2 separate regions of the Homo sapiens genome follow, and region 1 is linked to region 2. The links are contacts of gene promoters, found by promoter capture Hi-C in human tissues and cell types (Jung and others, 2019). All regions are on one chromosome and are shown on one strand. Each heading gives the region's core, a stretch centred on a gene start or on the middle of the fragment in contact. The rest is flanking DNA. Distances are from core to core; before and after follow the strand shown.

Region 1 (3,044 bases), core at 242-2,741, 530 kb after region 2:
TATACTTAAAATATTTAGAAAACTTTATAGGTAAAGGAATCCCTAGGATGCATTTTTTTTTTTTTTTTTTTGAGATGGAGTCTTGCTCTGTCACCCAGGAGTGCAGAGGCACCATCTCAGCTCACTGAAACCTCCGCCTGTCGGGTTCAAGCGATTCTCCTGCCTCAGCCTCCCAAGTAGCTAGGATTACAGGTGCACACCACAAGGCACGCACGACCAAGCTCAGCTAATTTTTGTATTTTTAGTAGAGACGGGGTTTCACCATGTATGGCCAGGCTGGTCTCAAACTCCTGGCCTCAAGTGATCCGTCGGCCTCGGCCTCCCAAAGTGCTGGGATTACAGGTATAAGCCACTGCGCCCAGCCCTTAGGAGGATTTAATATACTTGGCAAATGAGGTATTAGAAATGTTTTAAACAGTAGGTAGGTTATCAGTACATATTAACAATGAAAAACACAAGATTGCAAGACTGTAAATGTGTTGAGTTTTAAAATAAACTTTCTGTAAAACTTTTTGACCAAAACCAAAAACTGGGGGTGGTATCTCTTTTTAAAACAGAAAGGGCTACTGTCCTACTTACAGAAGCTCTTCTATTATCATTATAATAGCCTATCTCAGTGCTTTCTTAGGATAGTTGGTTTTCATACCTGTTGAATAAACTGATTAATGAATAAATCAGTAAACAAACTCTGAGGACTTCAATAAACAAATTTATTATGCTATCTCATGCCGCATACTATATTCTAGCAATGGCCCAGTGCCTAGCCTCACAATGGTTACAAGACTGGGCCATGAACTCATTTTTAAAACCACTTTTCCCCCAATAATATTAGATATAAATAATGCTTAAAAACTAAAACTCTCGGTCAGGGGCGGTGGCTCACACCTGTAATCCCAGCACTTTGGGAGGCCAAGGCGGGCAGATCACTGGAGGTCAGGAGTTCGAGACCAGCCTGGCCAAAATGGTGAAACCCCTGTCTCCACTAAAAATATAAACACTGGGCTGGGTGAGGTGGCTCATGCCTGTAATCCCAGCACTTTGGGAGGCCAAGGCAGGCAGATCACAAGGTCAGGAGATCAAGACCATCCTGGCCAACACGGCGAAACCCCGTATCTAATACAAAAAGTTATCCAGGCATGGTAGTGTGCGCCTGTAGTCCCAGCTACTCAGGAGGCTGAGGCAGGGGAATTGCTTGAACCTGGGTGGCAGGGGTTGCAGTGAGCCAAGACTGCGCCACTGCACTCCACCTTGGCGACAGAGCAAGACTCAGTTTCAAAAAAAAAAAAAATTAGCTGGGCACAGTGGCTCACCCCTGTAATCCCAGCACTTTGGGAGGCCGAGGCAGACCGATCACTTGAGGTCAGGAGTTGGAGACCAGCCCGGCCAACATGGTGAAACCCCGTCTCTACTAAAATACAAAAACTAGCTGGGTGTGGTGGCGGGTGCCTGTAATCCCAGCTACTCAAGAGGCAAAGGCAGGAGATCACTTGAACTCGGGAGGCCGAGGTTGCAGTGAGCCGAGATCGCGCCACTGCACTCTAGCCTGGGTGACACAGTGAGACTCTGTCTCAAAAGAAAACAAACAAACAAACAAACAAAATTAGCCAGGTGTGGTGGTGCGCACCTGTAATCCCAGCTACTCTGGAAGGTGAGGCAGGAGAATTGCTTGAACCTGGGAGGCAGATGTTGCAGTGAGCCGAGGTCGCGCCACTGCACTCCAACCTGAACGACAGAGTAAGACTCCGTCTAAAAAAAAAAAAAAAGTAAAACTCTATATTCTTGGTATTTAAGTTATATTTTATGGTTTTTAAATGTGTAATTCATTCTGCAGAGTTAACCAGATATATTTAATTTTCGTTTATGCCAATATACCCATTCCATTCACTTCAAATTTTTCCATAACATATTCCCCTTTATTTGGAGCTGCCAAAACTTGCTTGTTGATAGGCTGGACTTCAAAGGTGAAGGCAAAAATACCAGTTAACAGCTAATTTTTATGGATATTCCTTTAAGATAACTGGCCTCTCCTGGGCGCGGTGGCTCACATCTGTAATCCCAGCACTTTGGGAGGCTGAGGCGGGCGGATCACAAGGTCAGGAGTTCGAGGCCAGACTGGCCAACATGGTGAAAGCCCGTCTCTATTAAAAATACAAAAATTAGCCAGGAATGGTGGTAGGCGCCCGTAGTCCCAGCTACTCGGGAGACTGAGGCAGGAGAATTGCTTAAACCTGGGAGGCAGAGGTTGCAGTGAGCTGGGACCGCGCCACTGCACTCCAACCTGGGTGACAGAGCGAGACTCCATTTCAAAACAAAAATAAAAAAGATTGGTCTCTCATGGAAAATCAGAAAACATTTCTCATCTTTGATAAATACTAATGTCCACTTTAAGCAGCCTAAAAGATTACCAACTACTTATTTCAACACAGGTTTATGTGTTTTGCCATGTGAAACTGATTGAGAATTAACTTTCATAATCATAAGCAAAGCTTATCTGTTACCTATAGATGATAAACAAAATAAATTATAATACATTGAAAGATGGTATGTACTTTGTAGAAAAATAAATTAGGGAAGAGAGCTATGGAGTAGTTTATTTTAAATACAGCGATTAGGCCTCACCAAGAAGGTGAAGATTAGAACAAAGATTTAAAAGAGGCAGAGGCAGGAAGCCCTATTCATATCTGGGGGAAAGAGACTTCCAAGCAAAGGAAAAGACAAATACAAAGAGGCTGAAGCAGGAATGGTGTATTTGAGGGAGGAATAGCAAGGCCAACAGTATGACTGGAGCAGAATAAATGAAGAAAATCAGAAATAAATACTGAGTATTATGAGTAGAGTGTAGGGCTATGTAACACAATGTAAATAAACATTTTAGTTTTAACTCTGAATGAGGTGAAAATCATTTGAAGAGTTTCTGACTTGTCACATTTTAACAGTATCACTGGCCACTGTGTTAAGCCTGGAAGGGAACAGGATACAAGCAAGAGACTGGTACAATAATCCATATAAGAGATGGTAGCCTGGAGAGATGGTGGCCTGGAACA
Region 2 (3,003 bases), core at 238-2,737:
CTCAAAAAAAAAAAAAAAAAAAAGAAAGAAAGAAAAGAAAAAAGATTGAAACAAAACTTTATGTTCTGTTGCATCAGCCCTCTGGTTTTTAGTGTACTGATATTTCAGATGTCTATGTAGAAAGGGAGGAAAGAAAAAGAAATACCCAGAGATGGTTTTAGGTGAGAAAGGCAGTGGAGTCTGAAGTGTGACCTGTGATAAAGCAGCACATGAAGAAGTGGAGAAGAGACAGTGTGCCTAGAACACTAGAGAAGACGACATGGTAATAGCTTCATTCACTGTCATCATTCTGCCTTAGACAAGTCAGGCTGATGCCTGTAGAAATCTGTAGGGTAGTGATTAATAGCAAAGTGGATAATGTACCTGACGACCTGAACCTGTTTTTTCATCTGCAGAATAACAATACCAACTTCATTGGGATATTATAGAGACTAACTGATAGAATGCAAGTAAAAACCGTAGTACACAGCCTAACAAAAAATCCTTTTTTTTCTTTTTTCTTTTTTTGAGACGGAGTCTCGCTCTGTCACCCAGGCTGGAGTGCAGTGGTGCGATCTCGGCTCACTGCAACCTCCATCTCCCAGGTTCAAGCGATTCTCGTGCCTCAGCCTCCCGAGTGGCTGGGACTACAGGCGTGTGCCACCAGGCTGGACTAATTTTTGTATTTTCGGTAGAGTCAGCGTTTCACCATGCTGGCCAGTCTGGTCTCAAACTCCTGATCTCAAGTGATCCGCCCATCTCGGCCTCCCAAAGTGCTGGGATTACAGGCGTTAGTCACCACGCCCGGTACCAAACCCTCTATTTTGGTAGAGTGGCCACTGACATAGTCAATGTTAGCTTCTCTGATCTTGCTCCAAAACCAAACCAGTGCTAAATCAGCACTGGAAACAAACGGAGACTCAGGCCACTGACGCTCACACCACCCGCCAGCAGCCTGGCTCACCTGGCGGCAGGAAGAGCGTGGCGCGCACCCGGCCCGCTCGCACCGACTGGCGCCGCACCCCTGGCGGGAGGAAGTGGCGCTCGTGCTGCGCCTGGCACAGCAGCCGTCCAGGCTCGGGGTCGTGGCCGTCCAGCACCTCCAACTCCACGACAAAAGGAATCTGTACGTCCCGCTTCAGGAAGCGCCAAAAAGGCTTCTCGGGTTCCAGGGCCCAGAGCAGCCCCATGGGCTCGAGTCCCGCGAAGCTGCCGCCCAGCGCGGGTGCGCGCTCCAGGTCCAGCTCGCCGCGGGCGTCGGCGCAGTAGCGCGCGTGGGCCCGGAAGAGCGCGCCCTTCTCGTCGCGCAGGGACGCGCGCAGCGTAACCCGCTGCTCCGGGGCCAGGCCGCGCACGGCAATGCGCACCGGCTCGTTCCAGCAGCAGCGGCCTGGGGGCTCCAGGATCAGCGTTGCTGACATCTTGGAGCCGGAGCGGGGAATTCAAAGGTCGAGGCCCGAGACCCGTCCAAGATCGTGGCAAGCGCGCCGAATGTCCGGACGGCGTCCGGCGTCCCCTGGTGCCGGAAGCTGCCGGTGGCTGAGCAGTCCCAGAAAGCCCCTGGGACTTCAGACCGGTTAACCCGGCGCTCCGGACTCGTCTGAGGCAAAAGTAGCCAGGCTCCTCTTCAGGGTCGTCTCCTTGGGCCCCGGGGCGCGCAAGGTGTGGCGCCCAACCCACCCCGTAGAAAGCCTCTCTGCCTCACACCACCCTCGGTTGTTGGAATGAAAGTTGTTGGATGATCAATTTGTGGTGAAACCAAAAGCCAATGAGATCAAGCCAAATTCCAGCCTTTCATGGGCTCCATGGAAGGTTTTGTTTTTAACTTTTTTTTTTTTTGAAACAGAGTCTCCTCTGTCGCCCAGGCTGGAGTGCAGTGGCGCTTCGGCTCACTGCAATCTCCGCCTCCTGGGTTCAAGCGATTCTCCTGCCTCAGCCTCCCGAGTACCTGGGATTACAGGCGCGCGCCACCATGCCGCTAATTTTTGTATTTTTAGTAAAGAGGGAGTTACACCATGTTGGCCAGGCTGGTCTTGAACTCCTGACTTCAAGTGATCTTCCCGCCTTGGCCTCCCAAAGTGCTAGGGATTACAGGCGTGAGCCGCTGCGCCCGGCCTGCTTTTTTGTTGTATTTGAGACAGGGTCTCTCTCTGTCATCCAGGCTGCAAGGCGGTGGCTCGATCACAGGTCACTGCAGCCTCCACCTCCCAGGCTCAAGTGATCCTCCTGTCTCAGCCTTCGGAGTAGCTGTGACTACAGACAGCGCACCACCATGCCACGTTAATTTTTAAATGTTTATTTTTAGAGAGGAGGTGTCACCCTGTTTCCCAGGCTGGTCTCGAACTCCTGAGCACAAACTATCCTCCTGCCTCTGTAGTCCCAAAGTGCTAGTGATACGTGACAGCATGCTGGCTGCCCTCGCTCGCTGTCGGCGCCTCCTCGGCCTTGGCGCCCACTCTGGCCGCGCTTGAGGAGCCCTTCAGCCCGCCGCTGCACTGTGGGAGCCCCTTTCTGGGCTGGCCAAGGCCGGAGTCGGCTCCCTCAGCTTACTGGGAGGTGTGGAGGGAGAGGCGCGGGCGGGAACCGGGGCTGCCCGCGGGGCTTGCGGGCCAGCGCGAGTCCCGGGTGGGCGTGGGCTCGGCGGCCCCGCACTTGGAGCGGCCGGCCGGCCCGCAAGCCCCGGGCAGTGAGGGGCTTAGCACCTGGGGCAGCAGCTGCTGTGCTCGATTTCTCAGCGGGCCTTAGCTGCCTCCCCGCGGCGCAGGGCTCGGGACCTGCAGCCCGCCATGCCTGAGCCCCCGCCCCCGCCGTGAGCTTCTGCGCGGTCCGAGCCTCCTCAACGAGCTCCGCTCCCTGCTCCACTAACGCCCAGTCCCATCGACCGCCCAAGGGCTGAGAAGTGCGGGCGCACGGCGCGGGACTGGCAGGCAGCTCCACCTGCGAACCCCGTGCGGCATCCACTGGGTGAAGCCAGCTGGACTCCTGAGTCTGGTGGGGACTTGGAGAATCTTTATGTCTAGCTAA

The links. The method cuts DNA at HindIII sites, captures the fragments that hold promoters and counts their contacts. A contact is called where the count stands out against the background at its distance.
Region 1: a contact is called between a fragment that was not itself captured here and the fragment with the promoter of ACOT4 in region 2, in 1 of the 25 tissues and cell types used here (dorsolateral prefrontal cortex).

Annotation. Positions count from the first base shown.
Region 1 is chr14:73,063,674-73,066,717 of GRCh38, reverse strand. The region is part of intron 1 of RBM25 (RNA binding motif protein 25); the gene reads right to left. Among named protein-coding and RNA genes, the nearest start is that of RBM25-AS1, 5.7 kb to the right of the region's middle. RefSeq lists enhancers at 769-1,269, 1,270-1,770. The HindIII fragment of the contact is 8,376 bases long and covers 1-3,044 here.
Region 2 is chr14:73,590,357-73,593,359 of GRCh38, reverse strand. ACOT4 (acyl-CoA thioesterase 4) reads right to left here and starts at 1,487. Exons shown (of 3, transcript NM_152331.4): 1 at 944-1,487. The coding sequence starts at 1,400. It also overlaps a transcript of HEATR4 not described here. RefSeq lists a silencer at 873-942 and an enhancer at 754-1,253. The HindIII fragment of the contact is 17,984 bases long and covers 1-3,003 here.